Linked DNA regions of Homo sapiens: all the other regions are linked to region 3. The links are contacts of gene promoters, found by promoter capture Hi-C in blood cells and fetal thymus (Javierre and others, 2016). All regions are on one chromosome and are shown on one strand. The core of a region is centred on a gene start or on the middle of the fragment in contact, and the rest is flanking DNA. Distances in the headings are between cores, read along the strand shown.

The links. Contacts are between HindIII fragments. The CHiCAGO score rates a contact against its expected background, and 5 or more counts as called.
Region 1: a contact is called between a fragment that was not itself captured here and the fragment with the promoter of ATAD2B in region 3, in 1 of 17 cell types (fetal thymus). The highest score is 5.4, in fetal thymus.
Region 2: a contact is called between a fragment that was not itself captured here and the fragment with the promoter of ATAD2B in region 3, in 3 of 17 cell types (non-activated CD4 T cells, naive B cells and total B cells). The highest score is 6.4, in non-activated CD4 T cells.
Region 4: a fragment that was not itself captured here is called in contact with the fragment with the promoter of ATAD2B in region 3 in 4 of 17 cell types (non-activated CD4 T cells, fetal thymus, monocytes and 1 more); the score reaches 6.6 in non-activated CD4 T cells.

The regions. Positions count from the first base shown.
Region 1 is chr2:25,251,633-25,257,969 of GRCh38, reverse strand. The region is part of intron 6 of DNMT3A (DNA methyltransferase 3 alpha); the gene reads left to right. Among named protein-coding and RNA genes, the nearest start is that of LINC01381, 50 kb to the right of the region's middle. RefSeq lists an enhancer at 4,031-4,565 and silencers at 5,372-5,521, 5,692-5,911. The HindIII fragment of the contact is 393 bases long and covers 4,790-5,182 here.
Region 2 is chr2:25,875,403-25,881,562 of GRCh38, reverse strand. It overlaps ASXL2 (ASXL transcriptional regulator 2), which reads left to right and starts at 3,076. Exons shown (of 13, transcript NM_018263.6): 1 at 3,076-3,397. The coding sequence starts at 3,341. RefSeq lists a silencer at 2,897-3,056 and an enhancer at 3,967-4,016. The HindIII fragment of the contact is 1,072 bases long and covers 1,741-2,812 here.
Region 3 is chr2:23,924,793-23,931,615 of GRCh38, reverse strand. It overlaps ATAD2B (ATPase family AAA domain containing 2B), which reads left to right and starts at 4,493. Exons shown (of 28, transcript NM_017552.4): 1 at 4,493-5,061. The coding sequence starts at 4,846. It also overlaps a transcript of UBXN2A not described here. RefSeq lists enhancers at 3,967-4,056, 3,643-4,559, 5,317-5,366, 4,560-5,478, 5,577-5,826 and silencers at 4,227-4,556, 4,757-4,836. The HindIII fragment of the contact is 2,488 bases long and covers 3,998-6,485 here.
Region 4 is chr2:24,972,577-24,979,594 of GRCh38, reverse strand. All of the region lies in intron 1 of DNAJC27-AS1 (DNAJC27 antisense RNA 1), which reads right to left. Among named protein-coding and RNA genes, the nearest start is that of DNAJC27-AS1, 4.0 kb to the right of the region's middle. RefSeq lists an enhancer at 6,591-7,018. The HindIII fragment of the contact is 3,754 bases long and covers 2,624-6,377 here.

The DNA of each region.
Region 1 (6,337 bases), core at 3,737-6,236, 1.3 Mb before region 3:
TCCTTCTGCTTCCCCTCCTCTCTCCAGACCACTTCTCTCCAGTGAATTGCTCTGACCTTTCAGGTGGGCTCGGGCCTCTCTAGGCCTCAGTGTTCTCATTTGTAACAGACACAGCCAGGGTCTCCGTGTTTCCACACCTGGCTAGTATTAGAATTACCCAGGGAGGTTTTAATAGATTCCTGGGCCCCACCTTAAGCCCGCTGATCTACGTAGGTAGACCCCAAGAATCTGTATTTTTAAAGCCCTCCTTGGGTGATCCAGATGCAATTAAACCAAAGTGAATCTGGGGTTCTCCTGGCGAGGTGATTAGCAAGGCCCTCGTGAAAAGAAAGGAAGTTCTGCCTGTGCTAAGGATTGACTGGCCTCTCCGGGCTTCCAGGAGCTTCTGGAGAGCCCCTTACAGCCTAGTCTTGTCAGGAAGCGGGTGTTTCCTGGTCATGCCGGCTAAGCCAAGACCAGACCCCCACTTCTCTCCCTCCAGAGAAGCCAGGAGAGAGAGAATGACAGGAAGGGGGGATGTTGCCATAACAACAAGCTCCAAGCAGAGGCCTCCCTTCCAGGGGCTGGTACTTCACCCCAGTCCTGGTGGTTTCCATGGAGATGGGTTACTGAGGGACAGGGGGAATGTCTGCCCCACTTAGAGCATCAGCCAGGAGCTGCCAGAAGGCAGAACACCGCTAGGTGCGAGCCTTTGGACCCCTCTGCTCTCCGGGTGCACATCTGACACCTTCCCCCTGCTTAGTTGCTCTCTCTGCGACTGGTCTCCTTAGCAACAAGTCCTGCTAACTCCACGCTGTTGGCTTCATGGCTATTTTTAGCTTCACTGCCAGCAGCCCAGTCCTGGTCATTTGCTTGCAACCTCCATATGGATTGCAAGGGAATAGGAAAACAAAGATTCCCAGCCTCTTTTGGTAGACTGGGACCTCGTAGCAACGATTAGAATTCCTGCTATGAAATGGATCCATTCCCCAACTTGGAACTTGGGCAGTGGATTTGGGATAAGGTTCCTGAGACAACACTGCATTCAGTTCATTTTTAATCCTCTACTATGGGCAAGATGCTCTAGCCCACACTGCTTCCATACGAAGGTGAATGAGGTCCAGTCCCTGCCCTCTAGGAATATTTAATCTTGTAAAGGAGAAAGATGAGTACACAATCACCTTCGCACAAGGCAAAGACTGGCAGGTCCTAACAGAGGCTTACAAAGTACAAGGGGAGTGTGGCAGGGATGGGGTAGAAGATAAGGGACAGAAGGGAAAGATAAGGGACAGAAGGGAAAGATAAGGGACAGAAGGGGAGGATAAGGGTGAGGGGCCAGGGCAGCACTGTCAAAAGAACTTTCTGGGATGATGGCAATGTTTTAAAATCAGTGCCATCGAATTCAGTAGCCCCCAGCCACATGTGGCTCTTGGACACTTGGAATGTAGCCAGTGTGACTGAGGAACTAAATTTTAATTTGTATTTAATTCAAATAGACACATGCAGCCAGTAACTGCCATCCTGGACAGTGCAAGGCTAGAGGAACTTTCATGGTGGAGGTCACTGGCGGACTGGTGTAGAAGGATATGCAGGGTTTAGGTGGTGAAAGTTGAAGGGGAGGAACCTTCCAGGAAGAAGGAACAGCATGAGGAATAGCAAGTGGGCGGGCAAAGCGTGGGCTTCATGATATCACACGGAGGCCTCCAGATTCGTGGGGGCCTAGAATGTCACGCAGAGTGTTGACTGATTGGCATTGAGGCTTTTGAGCTGTAGGTGGGAGGAGGACGGGTTCAGAACAGACATCCATCCTGACCTCTCTTTTTGTCTGGATCAGGTCTCCCTGGTCTTGGGGTTGGTGGGAATACGTGTGGGGTGGAAATACGTGTGCAGTGACTTCATATGTGTTGCTTTGCAGATGGCTTTATAGGGACCATGGCTTCTCTGATTCAGAGTAGAGAGACTCGCATGGTAAATGTCCTGGTGGGATGACAGCAACATCATCTACCCTCATCCTGCCGGAACTGGATTTTATGACAGAGCATGCCACAGAGCACTGAACTTTGAGTAAAACGTCAGGCATGAGCTCCGGGCGTTGCTGCTCTTTGGAGAGGTATCATGATGGGCTAGTGTCTCGTCTCAATTCTTTGAGGCTGGAAAGTCACATTAACATACTTATGATCATGACTCTTCAATGACCCAGGAGAATGATGCACCCCAGAATGTTAGATTTACCAATTGATAACAGGACATGTCCTTGCCACACAAATCATAATGCTTGTCCTGCTGTTTTCTGGCAACTTACTGGTATCAGAGTCATTGGAAAATGTAATTAAAATTGGAAGTTTGCTTGATGAATACAGGATCAGGGCAGAGAGGTGTCCTTCAGAGGTATTTTTGTCGGGCTTAGGAGGCCTATGGGATCACTGTTGTCTGCCCACCAAACAGGAACTGTGCTCTCATTCTCAGGTCACTCTCTCCATTGGACCACACTGGATACTTCCTTTCCAGCACCTCTTTTAGGCTCTTGACATCCAGCATATTTTCTTCTCATCCAGGAGTTCCTCCTTTCAACATACTTTTATAACAAATCCAAGAACATGGCTTATTTTACATGGTGCTGCTATTTGAGTTTGGCTATCTTTAACTCAAACAAAAGACCTATCTGGTAAACTACCAGGGAGGTTTACTTTGGAAGCTCAAGAGCATGTGTGACCTGAGGATCCTTGAAGATTGCCCCATTTTAGTAAGGGGATTTTTCCTTTTACTAAAATCACCCCTGCTCTAGATCTTGGGGTCTCTTCTGCTTTGGGGTCTGACTGTGCATTGACCACAAAGAAGACACATCTCTGTTTAAGCGACTCAGTCTAGAAAAGGCAGTGTTTCCTGTCTGCATAGTTACAGGAGAGGGAAGAAAGATGCTCTGGGTTGTTAAGGGGACACCTTTGAGCCTAGGCTTCCTTTTGCTTGTTGGGAAGTTGTGTGGAAGAGGTAGGATTTGACTTTAATGTTAAAGGATGAGAATAAGGAAGTTTGACGGCCGGAGGGAACAGCTACCTAATATGTGGCCAAGAGAAAGTGAACAGTTCTGGCCAGTTCTGACACCTTGAGTCCTTGCTGCACGCACGGCATCATTGCAGTCTTATGTCCCAAGACCACAGAATGTGGAGTCTAAGGTGTTTAGCCGCATTATAATGGAAGAGCGGGTATCGTACATGAGACAGTGTCTGCAAAAGGCCACCAAGCCAGAACCAGAAACTTCTTTTGAGAGGAGGCCTGAAGTAAGTTCTCAGGCCCGTTGACCGGCATGGATGCAGAAGAGGTATCAGTGAGAGAAGCAGCGAAGCAAGTCATGCTGCATTCCCTAAAGGTTGGGAGCAGGCAAGAGGGACAAATTCTGGGCTTCTCACTTCTGCTTGGGGAGCCCCTGGAAATGTGTACCAGGCAAATACCTTAGTTGGGTTGAAAGATGGGTTGGAACAGAAGAGGGCCTGTGTTTTTGTTTGTTTGCTTGTTTTTCGAATAGCTTCTTTTCCTAGCTGTATGGATTCTGGGTCTCAGGGTTGGGGGGGAGTCTGTACCCAAGTCTTCTAGGTAGAAGGCTCTCTGGTTTGGGGTCCTTGCTCTTCAGGGTTTGCTTGCTCTGATGGCCCTCAGGGGGAGGGGGGGCTCCCTCACTGCACATCTCGTGACTTCATTATACCAGCACCTGTATGTCCCAGGTGACTGTGGCTGGGAGCCAGGCACCTAGAGAATTGTCTCATTGTCATTAGGAGATGGTGGCGTTCCATGGCCAAAGAGGGCTGATGTCATCACTCGTTTTGCAGATGAGACAACAGATTTCTTGGGGGTTAAGTGACTTGTTTAAGGTCATGGTGGTGGAAACAGAACTGAAGTCCAGATCTTTTTTTTTTTTTTTTTTGAGACGGAGTCTCGCTCTGTTGCCCAGGCTGGAGTGCAGTGGCATGATCTCGGCTCACTGCAACATCCGCCTCCTAAGTTGAAGCGATTCTCTTGCCTCAGCCTCCCAAGTAGCTGGGATTACTGGCGCACGCCACCACGCCTGGCTAATTTTTGTATTTTTAGTAGAGACAAGGTTTCACCATGTTAGTCAGGCCGGTCTCAAACTCCTGACCTCATGATCCGCCTGCCTCAGCCTTCCAAAGTGCTGGGATTATAGGCGTGAGCCACCGCGCTCGGCCAAGTCCAGATCTTCTAACAAGTGCCGCTGCCCAAATAGCCCTCTGCTGTGGGGTGCATTTTCCTCCATTTCCTCAGTTCTTCCTTCTAATTCATCTTGCCAACGGCAACTAGGCTGATTTTTCCAAAATACTCATTCATCTTGTCAGAAAACCTGCGGTTATTCTTCCCTGCTACAGAATATACCCAAGGACGCACCTGAAGGCTTGCCATTACCTTGCCCTGTCGTGTACTGGGAGGGTGGAGGTGGGCGAGGGTCTCCTCCCTCCCCAGCCCGGCAGCTCTTGCTCATCCTACCCATCTCACCTCATTCCAAGTCCGATCCAGCCTCCAGGCCCAGTCGGCTCACCTGGAACTGACCTCTGACCTCTTTTGTCATCCATGCCGCCCATTTTTTTCTACTTGGTATTTGTGGCATAGTTACCTTTACATATGTTTGTTTTACAGTGATCCTTTCATATTTCTCCAAGTCTAGTGGAATCTTCAACCCCTCGAGGGCAGAGCCAACAGGGTCTATTTCTTTATCTGATCCTACAGCCAACGTAATGGAGGGCTGTGGGTGGGGACTGCGTCTGCCTTGGGGGTAGGTGCCTTTGTTCAGGAGGAGGAAGCTTGAAATGGCGGAGGCTGCACCTGGAGGCCGCACCTGGAGGCCCCAGGAGAGGAGTCAGGTCTTCTCGATCTGCAGATGTTTGAGCCTGGGAATGAAGGAATTGCTGAACTTTCTGAAGGAGCGCCCTCGCCGCGACCAACCTTGCAAACAGGAAAATGAGAAATCCAGGGAAGGCCCAGAGTGACGCAGGGGCCCTGGGACTCGAAGCCTGACCTCCTCACGCCGCGCTTTTTGAGGCCCCCCCGCTTCTCTATTCACCTGTAGTGTGGAGGCGGGAGACCCCCCAAACAATCCCCGATCTGGAGCGCTCCCAATGCCTGCGCGCGCCTGCTGTCACTCTCCGTCTGTGTGCTGAGTTTTCCTACAGCTTCCTGGGCCTCCTATCTGTAAGCTTTTTCTTTTTTTTTTTTTGGTTGTGCTTCAGAGAAACTCACTTTTCACAACTTTCTCCCGGCTCTCCCAGGCCGTCCGAAAGCTCCGGCTTGCTTTCGCCCGGACCCCCGGCTCCCTCCGGGCAGGCGGCTCGGGAGCAGCCCCTTCCCTCCCCTCCCGGCCCCCCGGCCCCGCGCTAATCTCTTCCAGAGCTGGGGGAGGGGCCAGGCGGTCTTCCCGAAGGCGGGGCGCTCCCTGCAGCCCGGCCTGGGCGGGCCCTGGGAACGGGCGGGGAACGGCCTCGCCCCCCGGCCCCGCGCCCCTCGGACCGGAGAAGAGGGGCTGGCCCAGCGCCAGCGTCGGAGCGCCGGCCCCCTCCCCGGGCCGCTCGCAGCCAACCAGGCCCTCCAGCGGGGCCCACGTGACCTGGAGTCCTAGACAAAGAAAATGTTCCCTCCCTCCCCCCCGCCGCCCCCCTCCCCTCCCAGTGGCCCCCTCCGCCCCCAGCCCCATCGCCCCCTTCCCCTCCCCCAAGACGGGCAGCTACTTCCAGAGCTTCAGGGCCGCGGCTCACACCTGAGCGCGACTGCAGAGGGGCTGCACCTGGCCTTATGGGTAGGTTCCTGGACGGAGCCCCGGGGAGACCGGGGGCGGGGAGGCGGCAGGGCCGGTGGGAGGATCTCCGCAGCCCTCCGGGTTTGAAAAGAGTGAAGTATGCCTCCCCGGCCCGCAGCAGCCGCGGCGTCCCGGCCTGGCCCGAGTTCTGGAGATGCTGACTTAGTGCTGGCCCGCCGCCTTCCTGCCCACGAGCCCCAAGGCCCCACTCCTCGAGGGCTCCAGTGGCACCTGGCGCCCTCGGGGGACAGGAAGAGCAGCCGGCCGGGAGCCCGGGCAGTGGTAACTGCAGGCTGGGGCACGCGGAGCTGGTGGCCCAGGAGTTGGGTTGGAGGCAGCTTCAGCTGAGCTGGCAGATGGGTGCCTGGCACTTCCCTGGTGACCTGCGTTTCTGGCTGGGGGACCACGCGGTCCTCAGGGCCCTGCCAGCTTGCGGCCTCTTAAGAGGGACAGCTTCCTCTCCTGCGAGTTCCTGGAAGCCTCCAGGCAGGCCGCCAGAAAGAAGTGGTGGGGGGCGGGAGAGCACGGTGCGACCCTGACAGGGGGCCGGCCTGTGACACC
Region 2 (6,160 bases), core at 1,027-3,526, 2.0 Mb before region 3:
GACACTGCGCCTGGCCAGCTTCTTCCCTTCTCTATGATGCTTCCCTCACACCGTTACAGGTTTCTTCTGAGAGCACTCCAATATATAACTTGCAGAAGGAGTCAAGGCTCAGTCTCTGCTTCCACAGACAAAACGAATATCTGTAGAATTTTTACAATGAGCAGTTTGGTAAAGATGAAAAAAAAGTTAATTTTATTGTGAAAATAAAAATCTCATGTGGATTCCAAGATAAAGCATTTGAAGGGGTTGGGGCTGAATATCTGTAGTCTAAAAATCCTTGATTTCACTTTCTGCAGTACACTAAGCCAAAGTTTGTCAAAGCAGGTCATTCACTTTACCACAAAAGAGTCAGACCTTGATTTGTAGATGTAAAGCATTGTTACACTTAGTAGGGCAGAGGAGTGGGTGGAAGTTGTGAAAGTAGAGATGGTGAGTGTAGGTTACACATTCAAGATATTTATGGGCAAGAAAGAGAGGAAAAATAATTTGATATGGTAGGGTGGTAGGGTAAAGAGACTTCCTTAAGCTGGAAGTGTCTTGAATATGCTTGTAGAAGGAGGGGGAGGGGTATCAGAACTAGAAAATAATGAAAAAAGTGGAGTAACATTCCAAGGCAGATGAGAAGGGATAGTGTCCTGTATACGGTATATTAGAGGAGGGATTAGGCTATGCTAAGGAGGAGGAGGCAGTTAGAATGCGCGGACTTATGGGTAAATTTAGGGGTTGAAGACAAGGTGAGACTGCAACTGGGGGGCCAATAATTTTTACATGATATATGAAGCAATGTCATTAGTTAAATGAAGAGGCGAAAGTAGAGGTGGGGTCTTCAGGGGAGTGGCAAATGCTGATGGAAGTAACCAGAGATACATCAAAGGATGACTAAGTTGATTATAGAAACTGTATCTGTAAAGCTAAGAAACTGTGACTCAATCAAGAGGATATCTTAGGGAGGATATCTTAGTAGGGTAGTGGGTGGAGTTTTAAGAAGATAGATTTGGCATTCCCTGTAGGATGGGCTTGAGTAGGGTGAGAAAAGAAACAGACTATCTAAGGAAATCCAGAAGGAGGGTGGGGATGATGAGAGAGATGCAAATACACATAACAAATTCAATCAATAGACATGGGGACAAAATACTTTTTGGGGAATTATACTTTTATAATAATAATAAACTATCTGTATCTGTGGAAGATTAAGAAGTAGGAACCACAACATCACAATCCCTACCCTTGAAATTCAAACCTGGGGATAGAGCTCCAGAAATGCAAAGTAAGGACCCTAGTAAGGTCTGAAAACCAGTTGGGGCTCCAGGACCAAACAACAGGACTGGATGATAAGCTGTACTCAGCTCAACAGCCAGGGATGGAGAAGACCTTTTTTTCTCTTCTCTCTTTCTCTTTCTTTCTCTCTGTCTCTCTTTCTTTTTTGAGACAGAGTCTTGCTCTGTTGCCCAGGCTGGAGTGTAATGGCGCGATCTCTGGGCTCACTGCAACCTCTGCCTCCCAGGTTCAAGCGATTCTCCTGCCTCAGCCTCCCAAGTAGCTGGGATTACAGGCGCATGCCACCAGGCCCAGCTAATTTTTGTATTTTTAGTAGAGATGGGGTTTCTCCATGTTGGCCAGGCTTGTCTTGAACTCTTGGCCTCAAGTGATCTGACCACCTCAGCCTCCCAAAATGCTGGGATTACAGGCGTGAGCCACCGCACCTGGCGAGAAGGCCTTCTTAGACTACAGACATAAGCTTTGGAGGGAGGTGGTACATACTACCTGTGTAATGCATAAGGCTATGAATTACCAAAGACATTTGGGAAAATATATCCATATCAATTGCTGAAATAGGCTGTTTGATCCATGACTGAACGGAAATATAAGGAAGTATCTAGATACTTCTAGATGGCCTCTCAAACTCCCTTTAATATCTTTTTCTCTTTTTTTTTTGCACAACAGATCCTTTTTGAAAAATGGAGGAAAAGTTATGAATCCTCTTAAAAAATTCACATATAACACACAAAATATAGTTCATAATTTTAGGGAGTCCATGAATTTCTGAAACGCATCCATAAACTTTAAGTATTGCTCTCACCTGTCTTTCCTCCCAAGAGGCAATCCAATCCTCAGTCCTATTTCACACTATAGTAAGTTTACTGGATTGTTTGGAAGCAGCTTCTGGAAGCAGGTGGATTTGGGAGATCAGCAGTTGTTACTACATTCTTCTTACTTTGCAAGGTATCAAGGTGTAGATGATGTAAGAGAAGATGCCACATTCTGGATCTTTCAGAAAGCTGTTACGGATACTACAAATAATGGTCTCTGACCACAGAAATAGGTGAATCATTCAGCAAATATTTACTGGGCGCCTGATATGTACAGGCACTATGCTAGGGACTGAGCTCACCGAAATAAAGAAGACACCATTTCTGTCATTGATGAGTAGCTTCACATGTAAAAGCATGGATGCAGTTACTGGTGGCCTTAAAAACAAAGTCACCTAAGTTTGAGGCATTCTGGGGAGATGGAAAGGGCTCTGAGCTGGCAATTTGATTTTTGGTTTCTCTACATCCCAGACTTATGAGCTTGGCAAGTCACTCAATCTCAGTTGCTTCGCCTATCGAATGGGGTTAATAGGCAGACGAGAATTGTTGCCTATCTTCAAAAAGATAACCTCTGTAAAAATGCAAATAAATGAGAAAACACAAACGCAGGGCTGATCTAAAGTGATAGTTGGCAGAGCCACCCACTGAGGGAAGAGTTCAGCTCCCCAGGTCTACACAGCCTGTGCAGCGCCTCGCAAGAGGCGGGATCCGCTCAGTAAGCTTTCCCGGATGGCACAGGTTCCGCTTCCGCAGGCAGATATTCGCTGTAGGTGTGAGCGCCAGGCGTCAGACTACAGCTACTGCCGGGGCCTCCTTGGCGCGCATGCTCCTGCGGAGAGGCGGAGACCGGAAGGGCGGGGGCGTGGCGAGGTACCGCAGACCGCCGGCTCGATAGCTCAGCGGCCGGGCTTGGGAGGCGGGGGCGCGCCCGCGCTCGTTCGCGCGGCCGGCTGCGTACAGTAGTGACGGCCGCGCGGGAGCGGTCACATGACCGTAGCGGCAGCCTGTACAGTAAGAACCCAATATGGCAGCGGCGGTAGCAGTGGCAACGGCAGCAAGAGGACCGGCCGCCCCATAGACCCCCCCGCGCACCACCCCCGCCGCTTCCTCTGCTTGGGTGCCCCCCCGGTCTGACTTCCCTTTTCTCCCACCTTTCCCGGCACCGCGGGAAAAGCAGCGCAGGGCAGAGCAGGCAGGGAGGGCGGCCGGAGCCCGGACACGGGAGCCTCCCAGTCAGTTCAAGACCCGACATGAGGGAAAAGGGACGTAGGAAGAAGGGCAGGACCTGGGCGGAGGCCGCCAAGACGGTAAGGGGGAGGGAGCGAAGGGGAAGGCCGGGAGGATTTTGTTCCCTTGTCGCCCGCCAGTCGCAGGGAAAGGGAGGTCACTGGCCCAGGGACCCGGCTGAAGGGGCACAAAACCGCGCGGAGAGGGCGGCGGTTAGTGTCGGGGTTGCGATCCCTGTGGGAATGGAGGCGCCCGGCGGAACGTGATAGCCGCGGGGCCGTGGCGTCCCTCGGCGTCTGCGGCGAGTCCTCTCAGTGTTTTGAGGCTGTCTTTTGGGGTCGAGCCGATATCACCTCCGCTCTGTGGTAGCCCTCGCCCCGGCACGGGGAAGTCTGTGGTGCTTGCACGGTAACCGGTTCTTCTCCCTTGTGCGGCTGGAGAGCCCCCATTGGATGCAGATAGGAGAAGGCTTGTGCGTGCATCCAGCCCCGGAAAGGAGAGGGGAGCGCTGGAGCTGGATAGAATTTACCCGTTACAGCGGACGTGCCTGTGACCCCGGGCCCCCTGTTTGTCTGGCTCCCGGAGCAGACGAGAGATCACGAGGCTTTTGTTTTTGTTTGGTGTTGGAGCCGAAAGTGCAGGAGGTGTTTAGAAACGAAGTAACAGGTGGGACTTGTAGAATTTTTTTTTTTCCTGTTTCCGTAGAGACCTACTCTGAACAAGGCAGCAATGCATGGTGGGACGTGTAGTTTACCCGGCCTTCACGTTACCCTAGCCAAAGGGATGGTGCCCTAATGAAGTTGTAATTAGTGGGCAAAACAATTTTCCCCCTAATTGTGTTATGACGAAATTTAGAGGTAGATTTTAAAAAGTGGAATATTGAGGATTAGTGAGAACTTTTACCATATTTTAAGAAGAAAAAATTAAAAGCATGTTGTATGCAGAAATGAAATGGCAGGAGATAGTGAAGTTCATACATCGTTGAGGGTGCAGCAGAAAAGTAATAGGGCATTAAACGGCAGCATTTTAATAGTGGAAAGTGAGAGGTGTTCACCCCTTTAATGGTGATTAATGCCGGTAATACTTCGACAACGTAGCCCTTCTTAGTGAACCCTTATTAGATGCCATATGGTTTATTTTTTAATGAGTTTTTTAAATATAAAAGTAATGTTCACTGTGGGGAAATTTGGAAAATTATAAAAAAGTATAAAGAAGAACATTTAAAAAAAATCACATTTATTTCACCGCTCGGCTGTATCTGCTAACATTTGGTATATTACCGTCTAGTCTCTTTATTTCCCCAAATCTAGGTCATACTGTTTATTCAGTCTTGTGCATTTGTTTCTAAACTTTGTGCATTTGTTTTGTAAACTTTATGCATTAGGAGGTTGATGAGTTTTCAATTTGTATCTCTCTTAGTTGGAAATGTAAAAAAGTTAAGAAATAATAGCACATTTTACTTACTGGGTGTTTTCACTTACAATATGTCTTTGTATATCTTCCTGTGCTAGTAGTTTCCCTCTAAAAGATAAGACTCCTATACTTTTTTTTGAAGGTGTAGAGGTTGCATCCCCACAGAGGGCTGTTTTACTCTCAGTATACCTCAAGACCTCTTTCTGTTAATAAAAGAAGCATGATAAATTTTAATTATAGGTAAGCAGACCTGGACCCTAATTTATGCTAATTAATTTTAAGTTCCTAGGGTCTTTAAAATTGTTTTTTTAATTAAAAATATTTTGTAGAGACAGGGTCTTTCTATGTTGCCCAGGCTAGGCTAGTCTTGAACTCCTGGGCTGAAGCAGTCCTCCTGCCGTTGGCCTCTCAAAGCACTAATATTACACAAGTTTCTAGAATCTTAGGAGTGTTTTTTGAATTATGATCCCTTTGATAAAATAGTCATTGGGAGATTGCGACAAATAGGAAAAATTAGTCTGCATCTACTTAGCTTTTCCTATGTTAGTATATTTGCTCATTTCATGCCCTAGCTAGCTATGTGAAAAATAGTATTTAAAAGATGGAAAGACTACTTTGATCAGTAGAGTTCCTGAGGGTACCAGTATATTAGTAGCTTGGTATTTTTCTTTGATTCTGGCAAATACATGAAGCCCCAGTCTCAGTGAAAATGTGTTTTAGAAAGAGAATGATGACACTAAAGTTTTTCTAGTAGCCAAAATCTAGAAAACACTCTTAATTTTGGGGGGTTATTTTATTACCTATAAGTGAGGGGATTAAACTAAATCTCGGTGTTCAAAATATTTCTGTTTTTGGGATAAATAGATGAAAATAAAAGAAGGACCGGGCAAAGGTACATTTGTAATATTTCAGACTGTAGAATAATGAAATCAGAAAATTAGTGAGTTGACAAATGAAAGTAACTTTGACCTAAATAAGAATGTTAGTATTTAGATCCAGAGGAATAGGAAAAGAAGTTTTAAGGCTTAAACTTATTTCTTAGGCATTAGGATGTCAAGTGTTCGAGGAACAGTTTCATCAAGGAAGCAGGTGTCTGTTTCTTATTTCATGTGTTTTTGATACCTCCATTGTAGAGCTATCATGTTTTAGAGAGTACTATTAAAATAAGGTTGTTTTCCTGACCAATAATATACCAATAGATATATTCAACACATTAAATGTAGATATGTGATACTGGGATGATACGGGGTGTGTGTGTTTATGTGGGAGAGCTACATGGTTTGATGTAAGGTTATTATAAGCAAAATAATAAGATTCATAATTATTATCATTATTATTATAATTGTATTTATTTATTTAGAATCGTTTTGCTATGCTCTCCAGGCTGGAGTGCAGTGGCTTCACAGGTATGATCGTGGTGCACTAAAGCC
Region 3 (6,823 bases), core at 3,244-5,743:
AGCTTTTGATCTGAGCATTCCTTAGTATCTTGCCACCTCTTGCATGTACTGCAGGTTTTTTTTTTAAGTTCAAAAAATATTTAACCAACGTTTTAGTTATTTCCTCTAGTATGTACTGTAGAAAACAGGCAACTCTTCCATATCTCTTTTCTTTTCTTATTTTTGTTTCTGAGACAGGGTCTCACTCTGTTGCCCAGGTTGGAGTGCAGTGGTGAGGTCTTGGCTTACTGCAGCCTCCGCCTTTCAGGTTCAAGTGATTCTCATGCCTTAGCCTCCGAATATCTGCGATTACATTATAAGTACCCACCACCAGGCTCATTTTTGTATTTTCAGTAGAGATGGGGTTTCGTCATGTTGGCCAGGCTGATCTTGAACTCCTGGCCTCAAGTGATCTGCCTGCCTTGGCCCCCAAAGTGCTGGGGTTACAGGCAAGAGCCACTGAGCCCAGCCCCCCTTTTTTTTTTGAGATGGAATCTTGCTCTGTCGCCCAGGCTGGAGTGCAGTGCAGAGTGATCTTGGCTCACTGCAACCTGAGGCAAAGAATTGCTGAGTAGCTGAGTAGCTGAGATTACAGGTGCCCGCCACCATACCCAGCTAATTTTTTTGTATTTTTAGGAGAGACAGGGTTTCACCATCTTGGCCAGGTTGGTCTTGAACTCCTGATCTCATGATCCACCCACCTTGACCTCCCAAAGCACTGGAATTACAGGCGTGAGCCACTGTGCCTGGCCTCCTTTTTTTTTAAATTTTATTTTAATTTATAGAGATGGGGTCTCACTACATTGCCCAGCCTGGTCTTGAAATCCTGAGCTCAAGCGATTCTCCTACCTTGGCCTCTCTAAATTCTGGGATTATAGGCATGAGCCACTGCAACCAGCCCTTTTTCTTTCTCTTTTTTAAAATTTTATTTTAATTTATAGAGATGGGGTGTCACTATGTGACCAGCGCAGGCTGGTCTTGAATGCCTGAACTCAAGCCATCTTCCCACCTCAGCCTCCCAAAGTGCTAGGATTATAGGCGTGAGCCACCTTGCTTGGCCTTATCTTTTTCAAGTCTTCCTTTCTTTTGTCTACAATTTTGTGGTTCAACACGTATCTCAGGGGTCACTACCTCTCAGAGGTTTTCCCTAAAATCCCTGCTGGAATTAATGGTCTCTGCCTCATTCTTTCTTTTCACATTGTATTGCAGTTTACTGGTTTCTTCCCTATCTTATTCATTCCCTCTATGTCTGTGTGTTCTTTGAGGATTTTTAAACGTTCTTGATTTTTAAAAATCTGTGTATTTCCTGGCCTAGCAGAGTACCTAATACCAGTTGGATTTATTTATTTACTTATATATTTTCTAGAGACAGGGACTCACTATGTTGCCCAGGCTGGTTTCGAACTCCTGGGCTCAAGCTCAGTTGGATTTAAAATTAACATTTGTTACCTCCAGGCGCAGTGGCTCACACCTGTAATCCCAGCACTTTGGGAGGCTGAGGCAGGCAGATCACGAGGTCAGGAGATCAAGACCATCCTGGCTAATACGGTGAAACCTCGTCTCTACTAAAACTACAAAAAATTAGCCGGGCGTGGTGGCACACGCCTGTAGCCCTAGCTACTTGGGAGGCTGAGGCAGGAGAGTCGCTTGAACCTGGGAGGCGGAGGTTGCAGTGAGCCCAGATAGTACCACTGTACTCCAGCCTGAGTGACAGAGCAAGACTCCATCTCAAATAAATAAATAAAGTTAACATTTGTTGATAGTAAATGGTATAGGTTATGGTAACTTGGCCTTCCCAATTTAGGACTACAAAAACAAATAAACACACACAAAAAAGGAGGAAAGCACACAAATCCTTTGTATATAATTTGCATACCACACACCTCTGCAGGACACTAGCCTTTTTATTTATTTATTTTTTTTTGAGATGGAGTTTTGCACTGTTGCCCAGACTGGAGTGCAGTGGTGCAATCTCAGCTCACTGCAACCTCCGCCTCCCGGGTTCAAGCGATTATCCTGCCTCAGCCTCCCAAATAGCTGGGATTATAGGTGTCTGCCACCATGCCTGGCTAATTTTTTGTATTTTTAGTAGAAATGGGGTTTCACCATGTTGGTCAGGCTGGTCTCGAACTCCTGACCTCAAGTGATCCGCCCGCCTCTGCCTCCCAAAGTGCTGAGATTACAGGCATTAGCCACTGCACCCTACCCTTTTTTTTTTTTTTTAAATATTTTTTTGAGACAGGGTGTTACTCTGTCACCCAGGCTAAAGTACAATGGCATGAACTTGGCTCACTGCAGCCTGGACATCCTGGGCTCAAGTGACTGATGGCGCCTCAGTCTCAGGAGTGGCTGGGACCACAGGCACCACACCCAGTAGTTTCAGCTACCAGGGAGGCTGGGGCAGGGGGATTGCTTGAGCCTGGGAGGTCAAGGCTACAGTGAACTGTGGTTGTGCCACTGCACTCCAGCCTGGGTGACAGAGTGAGACCCTGTCTCTCTCTCTTTCTTTTTGGCAGGGAGAGGATCTCACTATGTTGCCCAGGCTGGTTTCCAACTCCTGGTCTCAAGCCATCCTCCCGCCTCGGCCTCCAAGTGCTGAGAATACAGGTGTGAGCTACAGTGCCTGGCCCAAACCAGCCTCTTTCCACAGGAATTGATACTTGTTTATGCTGCTCAGTGATGTGATAGCTACTTGACCCAGGAAAATCCAGGTATGGTTCCATTATGAGGAATCCCACCCATTAAGACATCAACTCTAAGTGGCAGGTGAAGTGTCCAGGAGAGGATGTGGTATGCAAATTGTGTCAGAAGGATTTATCTATTCTGGAATCCATACTGGTTCCCAAACAAAAAAAATTGTCATTTCCAGTGTTGTACAGTTTTTTGGAATGATTGGGAGCTTAGATGGCCAGAATGCTCTAAGTTTGATGCCATTTGGTCATTTTCAGGACTTTTCCTGAGTTTTCAATTTTTCTTAGTTTAATAAACAGTTTAATAAACTCCTGCCCAATAAACAGTAGGCTATGTCTAATGTACTGTGAATTTTATTTTTTTTTTTTTGAGATGGAGTCTCATTCTGTCACCCAGGCTGGAGTGCAGTGGCACGATCTTGGCTTACTGCAATCTCTGCCTCCCGGGTTCAAGCGATTCTCCTGCCTCAGCCTCTCAAGTAGCTGGGATTACAGGCATGCACCACGACACCTGGCTAATTTTTTGTATTTTTAGTAGAGAGGGGGTTTCACCATGTTGGCCAGGTTGGTCTCGAACTCCTGACCTCAAGTGATCCGCCCGCCTTGGCCTCCCAAAGTGCTGGGATTACAGGCGTAAGCCCGGCCTGTACTGTGAATTTTTGAAATGAACCTAATTCCTACTTTACAGCAGAGCTTTTCTTTCTTTCTTTTTCTTTCTTTCTTTCCTTTCTTTCTTCCTTTCTCTCTCTCTTTCTTCTTTTTTTTTTTTCTGAGACAGGGTCTGGCTCTGTCATCCAGGCTGGAGTGCAGTGGCGTGATTTCGGCTCACTGCAACCTCCATCTTCTGGGTTCAAGTGGTTCTCATGCCTCAGCTTCCCGAGCAGCTGGGATTACAGGTGCCCACCACAACACCCATCGATTTTTTGTATTTTTAGTGGAGACAGGGTTTCACCATGTTGGTAAGGCTGATCTAGAACTCTTGACCTCAGGTGATCCACCCACCCCGGCCTCCCAAAGTACTGGGATTACAGGCTTGAGCCACCGCACCCGGCCTACAGCAGAGCTTTTCATATGAATTGTGTGGCTTAATTTTTTTTTCTTTGGAAGTTAAATTGCAAATGCTTTATCTGTGGGTTCAGCTTTTTGTATTCTTAATTCTTCAGCGGGCCGGGGGCAGGGGGCGGCGATAGAGGCGGCTCTTACAGGGTACTCATTCTTTGGCTCCGCCTTAGATCTGGCTAAGGGGATAGAAAACGACCCTGCCTCGCTTTGTTTAAAAACGCAGAGTTCTAGCATGGTGTTTCCCCCCCCCCTTCTCTTCTTAAGCTTACCAAGTTCCAGATACCGCCCAGATGAATTTTTTTTTTATCACAGCTGTCATTCTCATTTCTACAGGCATGAAAAGTGCGACTCAAGTTCAGTGTCTTGCCTCGGGTAGCTTGGGGATTCCCAGTCAGCTCCTCGCGCCTTCGTCGCCGCTCCCCTTCCACCCCGCGCCTTCGCCGGCCGTCCCCTGCTCCATCCAGGCCACGGGGGTGACGGTGGGGTCTGGGGCATTCAGGCCTGGCTGGGCATGAGGGCTTCAGGCCCAATTCCACGCCCGAACTCGTCCTGATTAGTCTGGCTTTTCTGGTCGCCCCAGCCCTGCGGTCGGGGAGAGCTGGAAACCACCGAGCTGACAGCCTAGAGCGTCGCTCCCCGGCCGCCGAGCGCTGACGCCGCGCCGGGGGCGGGGCAGCTGGAGGCGGCAGGGAGAGGAGCGAGCAGCCGGGAAGGGCTGGCCGGCTTCGCAGCGCCCCGCCGTGGCTGCGGCCGGAAGCGGTCTCGTTGGCCCTGCGGCGCTGGAGCCTTGACGCACGGAGCTCGAGAGCGAGAACGGGAGAGAAAGGGGTAGAAATGGCGGCTCCGCTCGGCTCCCGCTGAGGAGGGCGAAGCCGGCGGAGTGTCTGTGCTGCCGGTCTGCAGCACCGCCCCCGCTTCCCGCACGCCGCCTGCTCACGCCGACTTCCCTTCCTCTGCCCGGCTCTCTCTTGTGCTCGTCTGCGCTCCGCACGCTCCGGGCCGGCTCGTCTCTCATTGCCCGGCTCGGCTCCGCTGGCCCTGACTGACCGGCCGGCGGGCCGGCCTTGCTCGGCTCTCCCGGGCGCGGCGTGGACTCCGTCCCCCTGGCTGGACCATGGTGAACACCCGGAAGAGCTCTCTCCGCCTTCTCGGGTCCAAGTCTCCTGGTCCCGGGCCTGGGCCTGGGGCCGGAGCAGAGCCTGGGGCGACCGGAGGCAGCAGCCATTTCATCTCCTCTCGGACCCGCTCCTCCAAGACCCGCGCCGCCAGCTGCCCCGCCGCCAAAGCCGGGGGAAGCGGTGGCGCCGGCGTCACTCTGGATGAGGCCAGGGTAAGAGCGCGGCGTCCCGAGTCCGGAGGCTCGGAAGTGCCGGCCCTGCTGCCGGGGCTTTGTCTGGCCGGGTTGGGGGTAGGAAGCCTACAGTGGAGACCGCTCGGGCGGCTGGAGACAGGGTCTGCGGGCGCGGTGGAGGGTGGCACCCAGAGAAGGGCCGCGACGCTGGCCCCTTTGCTTTTCAAGCTGGCCCGGCTCTTTTGTGTGAAGAACAGCCCTTGAGTCCAGGGGAGAGGGCTTTGGGGGTCCCTTTCGGCGTCATTCGAACGATCTGCTGTCCGTGTCCTTGTCCTGCCCCAGAGGGGAATTCTAGCGGGGAAGCAAGAGCGAAGGGCCAGAGCCCCTGGGTGGAAGGGTTGGAGAAGTGAAAGTTTTCTGCGGTGTCAAACCCTTCTTGAAAGTGTGTCAGTTCCTGCCGCTGTCTAACTCCAGCTTACTCTCAGTTTGGGGGTGGTTCAAGTTGGTGAGGAAGTGAACAGAGAGCTCCAGTTGGCAGCCAGGCAGGGATGCTGAAAAAAGTTTGTAGCTGCTCTGACACCAACTTTAAAAACAAAATCAACGCTATCGCCTCTCCAGGCAGGAGAGATCAAACATGATATTATAGCTGGGGAACCAGCCAGCTAGCTCACCAAGGTGCTAGTAGGAACCAGAGCTTTCAGGTCACAGAAGGAGCACGTCGAAAGAAACAAGTGGAATGTTTCGGATAGTCAGCACCATCATGCCAAAACTGTGTGGTTTCTTGGGTGTCTACATTTTTGTTATGGGACTATATTACAAAAGGTGAATGAACACCATAGTCATGCAGTTGCAAAAATGACATTTAAAGACGCTGGTGATTGAATTAAAAAACTGATTGAAAGATCTTGAAATTTTATTACCTACATTATAAAGCTAAGCACAGATATTTATTGTTTTAAAGGAATTGACACGTTTGTTTTACTATGAGATTGTTTCTGAATTCAGAGAAGAGTGTATTGCTTCTGTCTAAAAGAGGTTGACTTGCTAAGTAATTTGGCTGGAAAAAGCTGTTCATTTAAAATGCTCCTTTAATTCCACACCATTTTGTGGTTCTTATTGGGGGAAAGCAATATTTTATGTTCTAGGGGTCTACAAGATCGCGGTTTGTGTGTGCTTTTCTTTGTGTCTTACACTGTTTTGACACTAACAGAATGGATCTAGGCAGAGACAGGAATATTTTACCATACTACTCTGAAATATTTTTATTATATCTTTGAAAATCGTTTTGGCTTTTCTTTGATAAAATTTTGGGCATTATAACGTCCTATTTAATAGACTATTTTGGGGGCTTACAGCTCTCTTAGGTTGAAATAAGGTTAAATCTGAAAGTTGTGCAAACTGTTGAGAATAAGTACTTTGAAGACGAGGCTTTCGGTGGAAACTATTCCAAACATGTTCAAGCTTCTTGACCTACTGAGGCTATCACATATTTTAAAATAAAACTCAATTTAAGAAAAGATCTTTTCTGTACATTTAAGGACAAAGAAAATATTTAGGGTGTAAGCATTTAATCGTATCATGCTATGTGAATGCCTAGTCTGTTAGAGCAGTGTCTAACTCATCTGAAGCAATTAGCTCATCTTCACTCATCAGTTTGTGGTCCCATTTTTGAATTCATGGATATCATGCTGTCCTCACCCCCCGAGGAATAAGGTGAGGTAATTTGTCAAGCAGCTGTTATAGAGATGTTAAAAGGCTAGGAATCAATAATCTAATGAGGAAATGAACATTTGGTAGCTTT
Region 4 (7,018 bases), core at 3,251-5,750, 1.0 Mb before region 3:
CTACTTAAGGACTCATCTGATTGGGTCAGGCCCATGGAGGATAATATCTTCAGCGTAAAAACAACTGATCTGGGAACTTAATTACCAAAATCCCTTTGTAGCAGCACCCAAATTCATGTTTGATTAACTAACTGGGAAAAGGTATGTGTGTACCAGGGGCCAGGAATCTTAGAGGCCATCTTAGAATTCGGCTTACCACAGTATGCCAGTTAGATTTCATTTATGTCTGTATTTTAAGAGCTTCACCTTCTAAAGTACATAATAAGATATGGATAGTTATAGTATAACTATATTTATAGTTTGCCCCAAAATAATCTGGGGTATAGATGAAACAAGATTGATCCACGTTGATATTGCTGAAGGTGGAAAATGAGTGTTCATTACTTTATTCTCCCTACTTTTGCTAATGTATGAATTTTGGGCCAGGCACCATTGCTCATGCCTGTAATCCCAGCACTCTGGGAGGCCAAGGCAGGAGGGTCACTTGAGCTCAGGAGTTTGAGACCAGCCTGGGAAAGATGGCGAAGCCCCGTCTCTGAAAAAAAAATAAAAAATAAATTTTGTCAGATAAATTATTCCAGAGCATAGAAACATTTTTTAAAACTGTCAACTATGTGTGTGTTGGTGGGATTTTGAGGGACAAGGTCTTGGTCTGTCACCCAGGCTGGAGTGCAGCAGTGAGATCATAGTTCACTGTAACCTTGAACTCCTGGGCTCAAGTGATTCTCCTGCCTGAGTCTTTATTTTTATAGAGACAAGGTCTCACTATGTTGCCAGGGCTGGTCTTGATCTCCCGGCCTCAACAGATCCTCCCACTTCCACTTATGAAAGTGCTGGGATTACAGACATGAGCCACAGCACCTAGCCTATGATGCAAGTATAACATTAGTATCTAAACAAGGCAAAGGTAGCATAAAATTACTTTAGTATTACTTAATAATATTACTTACTTCCAACATTACTTAAGAATATTAATGCAAAAATTCTCAAAACGTTACCTTACAGAATTTGGCAATATATAATAAAAGTAAATTTACATTTACCTTTGACCCAGTAATTCCATTTTTTAAAGAATTTTACCTTGAAGACATACCCATAATAGTACAAAAATACATAAATGCCCCTAAATATATTAACTGAAAAAAAATGTATATACACACAATGGGATACTGTGCTGTGTAGCTATAAAAAAGGAGTATGATCTTTTTTTACATAATAGTGAAATAGCATGTGGTCCTTTCCAGAATATATTAAGTGTAAAAGCAAATTTCAAAATTGTGCACACACATACAATGTTACTTTTTTGTGTCATAAAGAGAAATGAGAAAATATACATGTAACTGTCTATTTTCTATAAAAAGAAACACAGGAAGGAGTAAATCACAGTCTATGTGATTGGTTGCCCACAGCAGGTAGGTGGGAAGTGGTGAAAAGGATTGGAATGAAGGGTGAAAGTGACACTCATGTGGGTATACTGATTGTATTGCTTTAACTTTGAATCTGTTAATGTTTTACATACCCAAAAACGTTAATAAAGTCACTAATCATGAGGGGCAAAAAACTGAAGCTACAATACTAAAGAAACAAATGAGCTTAATTGTATTTCGAATGCAAACCATAACCACACTGAAGAAGGAAAAAAAAGGATTAACCCAACTAACGTTTGAACACAATACTTATACTATATGACAAACTGTATTTGTCAGTTTTGGACAAAAAGTCATAAACAAATACTGAACTCTAGTTCAAAGGGCTTTTGTTTTTTAAAATGGTATGGGTTAGCAACTCTGAAACTACTTCCTATGTAGTGTAGGATTGAGCAAATGAGTAAATATACTGAGGATAAAAGGAGCCAAGTTTCTCACTGTTGAAGCAGGAAGTCATAATTATGGAAAGGGGGAAGACTAGAACAAATCCTGTTATGCTAAAATGCATTGGTATTATCCATATAAACTATACTTTAATAAATGGATTCAGATGCATGTATATATGTACATATATCTCTTTTTTTGGCTCAATCAACTGAAAGGTCCAAAAGCAAAGACACTCTAGTACTACTGAGAACACCTAGCACCCAGATCTTGGTTTCTAAATACCATCCTCCATTAAAAGGATCCTTGGAAGCAGGGCTTGTTGCTGTGCTAAGAAAGTAAGAAAGTGACTGGGCATGGTGGCTCAAGCCTGTAATCCTAGCACTTTGGGAGGCTGAGGCGGGTGGATTGCCTGAGCTCAGGAGTTCGAGACCAGCCTGGGAAACCCCATCTCTACTAAAATACAAAAAATTAGCCAAGCCTGGCGGCATGCGCCTGTAATCCCAGCTACTCAGGAGGCTGAAGCAGGAGAATTGCTAGAACCTGGGATGCGGAGGTTGCAGTGAGCCGAGATTGAGCCACTGCACTCCAGCCTGGGCAGCAGAGCGAGACACTGTCTCTAAAAAAAATTTAAAAAAAAAAAAGTAAGAAAGTGCTAAACAAACACAGAAACAACAACAACAACAAAGGTGAAGACATCAAAAGGACATACGAGCCAACCTGAGTATCAAAATAAATAATAATATTCATGGAGTAAAATAAGCATATACAAGGCCATACTGATACAAATGAATGAATGAGAAAGGAAAGCTTTTCCTTATGGTAGAATACCAAGTAATAAATATAAATGGAATGATGGAGTTGGAAAATCAGCATTTTGCGTCCATCATAGTAATAATCTCTTCAGCCATAAGTAATCACTGGATTCTAAAAATTTGTGGGTGAAAGTTCAGTGAAGAAAGGATAGCCATATAATCTCCAAGTATCCCTTTAAAAACTACTTATTACAAAGGGAAAAGTCACTTTACTGTAGATCAGCTTCATGAACCCCACCTTAACCAATGAACTAAAGTAAGCATCATTAATAAATGGAAAAAATTGGCATCCCAACTGATATGCTGCCCAAAAAGGACATAGTATCTTTGTTTGTTTAGATGGAGTCTTGCTCTGTCACCCAGGCTAGAGTGCAGTGGCATGATCTCGGCTCACCGTAACCTCTGCCTCCCAGGTTCAAGCAATTCTTGTGCCTCAGCCTCCCGAGTAGCTGGGACTACAGACACGTGCAACCATGCTCAGCTAATTTTTTTGTACTTTTGGTAGAGACACGGCTTCACCATGTCGGCCAGGCTGCTCTCGAACTCCTGACCTCAGGTAATCTGCTCACCTTGGCCTCCCAAAGTGCTGGGATTACAGGTATGAGCCACCGCACCTGGCCCATAACATCTTTTCTGTGGTATTCCAGCCAAATATAACATAACTGACTCTAATTTCAAGAATACACAAACAAACACAAATTGAGGAATATTCTAAAAATAACCGTCATTTTGAAAGAAAAAGAAAAGCTGAGGAACCATTCCAGCTTAAAGACTAAAGATATGTAACTAAATGATCCTAGATTAGATCCTAGACCAGTTGACCAAGTCAAACACAGCTATAAAGAATATTATTGGGACAAATGGTGAAATTTGAGTGTTAACTGTGAATTAGATAAAAGTTTCCCAAATTTTCTTTGTTCACAGTGCTTTCAGCATCTCAGGGTTTTGTTTTGTTTTGTTTTGTTTTGAGAGGGAGTCTCGCTCTGTCACCCAGGCTGGAGTGCAGTGGTGCTATCTCGGCTCACTGCAACCTCCGCCTTCCAGGTTCAAGGTATCCTCCTGCCTCAGCCTCCCGAGTAGCTGGGATTACAGGCGCCTACCACCACATCCAGCTAATTTTTTGTATTTTTTAGTAGTGACGAGGTTTCACTGTGTTAGCCAGAATGGTCTCGATCTCCTGACCTCGTGATCCGCCCGCCTCGGCCTCCCAGAGTGCTGGGATTACAGGCGTGAGCCACTGCGCCCGGCCCAGTGTACTCACTTTTCATCACAACCAACTGGAAAGCCTAGATGCCCCAAGACATGACATAGCCAAGGAATTTGGCGCCATCTATTGTTGAAACTGTAAACAACTTCAAGCTAGTAGTTTTGTACAGTCATTTAGATTTCATTTTGTTTGCCTTGAAAATTTAGAATGCAAGCTATTCCACAGATATCCCCCCGTGGATTTACTGTGGGGATGTGAGGTACCTCAGTGTACAGTTTGATTCAAACCACAGGATTTTATAATAGTGCTGTATAAATGCTGCATTTTCTGATTTTGATAAATCACTGTTGCCATGTAGAAGAAAGTCCTTCTGAGGAAACACACATTATTTATGGATAAAGAAACAAGCTGGCTGGGCACATTGGCTCATGCCTATAATCTCAGCACTTTGGGAGGCTGAGGCAGGAGGACTGCTTGAGCCCAGGAGTTCAAAACCAGCCTGGGCAACACAGTGAGACTCCTTCTCTAAAAAAAAAGAAATACATATATAGGTAAGTATGACATATATTCATATATGTATATATACACACTATATATATATGTGTATATATTATATATGTCTTTATATATATTTTTGAGCAATTCTCCTGCCTCAGCCTCCCAAGTCACTGGGATTACAGGTGCCTGCCACCACATCTGGCTAATTTTTGTATTTTTAGTACAGATGGGGTTTCACCATGTTGGCAAGGCTGGTCTCGAACTCCTAACCTCAAGTGATCTACCCGTCTTGGCATCCCAAAGTGCTGGGATTATAGGTGTGAGCCACCCAGCTGGGCCTGTGTTTATATCTATCTATGTATATCTATCTATTAAAATGTCTGCAAATAAACCTCAAACTACTCAGAAACATTTGAGTATACATGTACATATAGATAGCACAAGTGATAGAAAAAATGGGACAAAATGTTAACAACTGATGAATTTGGATAAAGGGTAGACAAGATTTTTTGGTCTCATTCTTGAAATTTTCTGTGTAAAATTATTTCAAAACAGTTTTGAAAGATGAAATGCAATACTACATTTTAAGGTATATATTCATATATAGTAAAACAATTTTAAATGCCTGGAAATTAAAGCAGCATTCAGATTGTTGCAACTGTTTGTAGAGAGGGAAGAGGGATGTATTGGGAAAGGCTACGCACAGTATCAGTGATGTTTTCTTGTTTCATTTATTTATTTAGAGACAGGGTCCAACTTTGTTGCCCAGGCTGGAGTGCAGTGGCACGACCACAGCTCACTGTGGCCTCAACCTCCCAGGCTCAGGTGATTCTCCAACCTCAGCCTCCCGCGTGGCTGGGACTACAGGCTTGGGCTACCACAACGGCTTTTTTTTTCGTAGAGACAGGGTTCTGCCATGTTGCCCAGGCTGATCTCAAACTCCTGGGCTCAAATGATCCACTGGCCTTGGCCTCCCAAGGTGCTGGGATTATGGGGTGGGCTACCATGCCCAGTGGTGATATTTTATTTCTTAAATTGGGTGGGGGATACATGGCTATTCATTCCATTATACTTTATACCTTTAAGTATGTCCTAAATATTTCATAATTTACTTTCTAAAAATACACATTAAAAAGATGTAGGATTTTTCTTAACACATAAAAAAGTATGAGCAAATGAGAGCATGTGGCTGCTGTTTGCTGGGAGACTACTACGTACTTCCTGTGCATTATCTCCTACAATCCTTATCACCACCTCATGCCTACAACATATGCCAAGATTAAGTGTATCGGGCTGGCTCCAGAATCCATGCTCACACTATACCTCCCAGGTCCATACTATGGAAAAAGCAGCTAACTCGTGCTGATTTTTATTTTTTTATATTCAAAGAGTGGGGGAAAAAAAACAACTTTCTTGCTCTTTCGATTCCAAACTAATTTAATACACACAGTAGAAAATGTAGCTATATACAATAAAGTGTCAAAAGCATCAATATGGGCCGGACGCTGTGGCTCATGCCTGTAATCCCAACACTTTGGGAGGCAAAGGCAGGAGGGTCACCTGAGGTCAGGAGTTCGAGACCAGCCTGGCCAATATGGTGAAACCCCGTCTCTACTAAAAATACAAAAATTATCTGCGTATACCGGTGGGTGCCTGTAATCCCAGCTACTCGGGTGGCTGAGGCAGGTGAATTGCTTGAACCCGGGACACAGGGGTTGCAGTGAGCAGAGATTGTGCCACTGCACTCTAGCCTGGGCAACAAGAGGGAAACTCTGTCTCAAAAACAAAAACAAAAACAAAAAAAACCCCATCAATATGAAAAAAATAGTAATCAATTTAAATCTGTGGCATGTTTTACTGCTTAGTCTCAACAGCACCATACTTAATCAATCATAACAGCTGAAGATTTGACATTTTATAATTATTCTTCCACAATACCAGTTACCCTATTACAGGGCCAAAGGTGAACTGTCGAAGAAATTACATGTTTAGTAATTTGATTTATTAAATCATACTGAGAAGTTAGCATGTGGATTCTTTTAAGCTTTAAAACTATCCAAATTCTAACCAGGACTTATATTTCATATTTGTAAATAATTTTAGAAGCTTCAGTGAATTAAGTTATATTATTTGATTATCAAAACAATCCAGAATAAACTTGTCTTAAAAAAAACTTAATGTTTAAAAAACACATTTTAAAATTAAAATGTGGAAAATCTGACTTTACTGTGAAATGTTGAGCCTTTGCTCATTGCCTTCCTGTAATGCACTTCCCTTAAGATGTTTAAAGTTAGGTGAGAAAAGAAGCAATGCTACTTTTGTCTTTGTAATATACAGGGAAATTGGCAGCCATTTTTTTTCAGGGCACTATAAATAATCATTGTCAAGTTCTATTTATCTTCTGTAACTGAAGATATTCACTGAAAAAAAATTACCGTTCCTGTCAGACTGACTTTTATTCAAGCACTGTCACATTGTCAGCTAAAGGGAAGGGGAGAGCAGACGTCGAGGTCACGTTCGAAGCGAACAGCGGGGAGCTGAGGAAACTGACGTCCACAGCTCCAGCCTGGCTTAGCGTTAACACCTGCAGTAGACCAAGCCTTTCTCCCACAGAGGAGTCAACAAATCCATCAGAGATCTGTAATAGGAGGGCCAAGACTAAACACTCTTGCCTTGACTCCAAATAG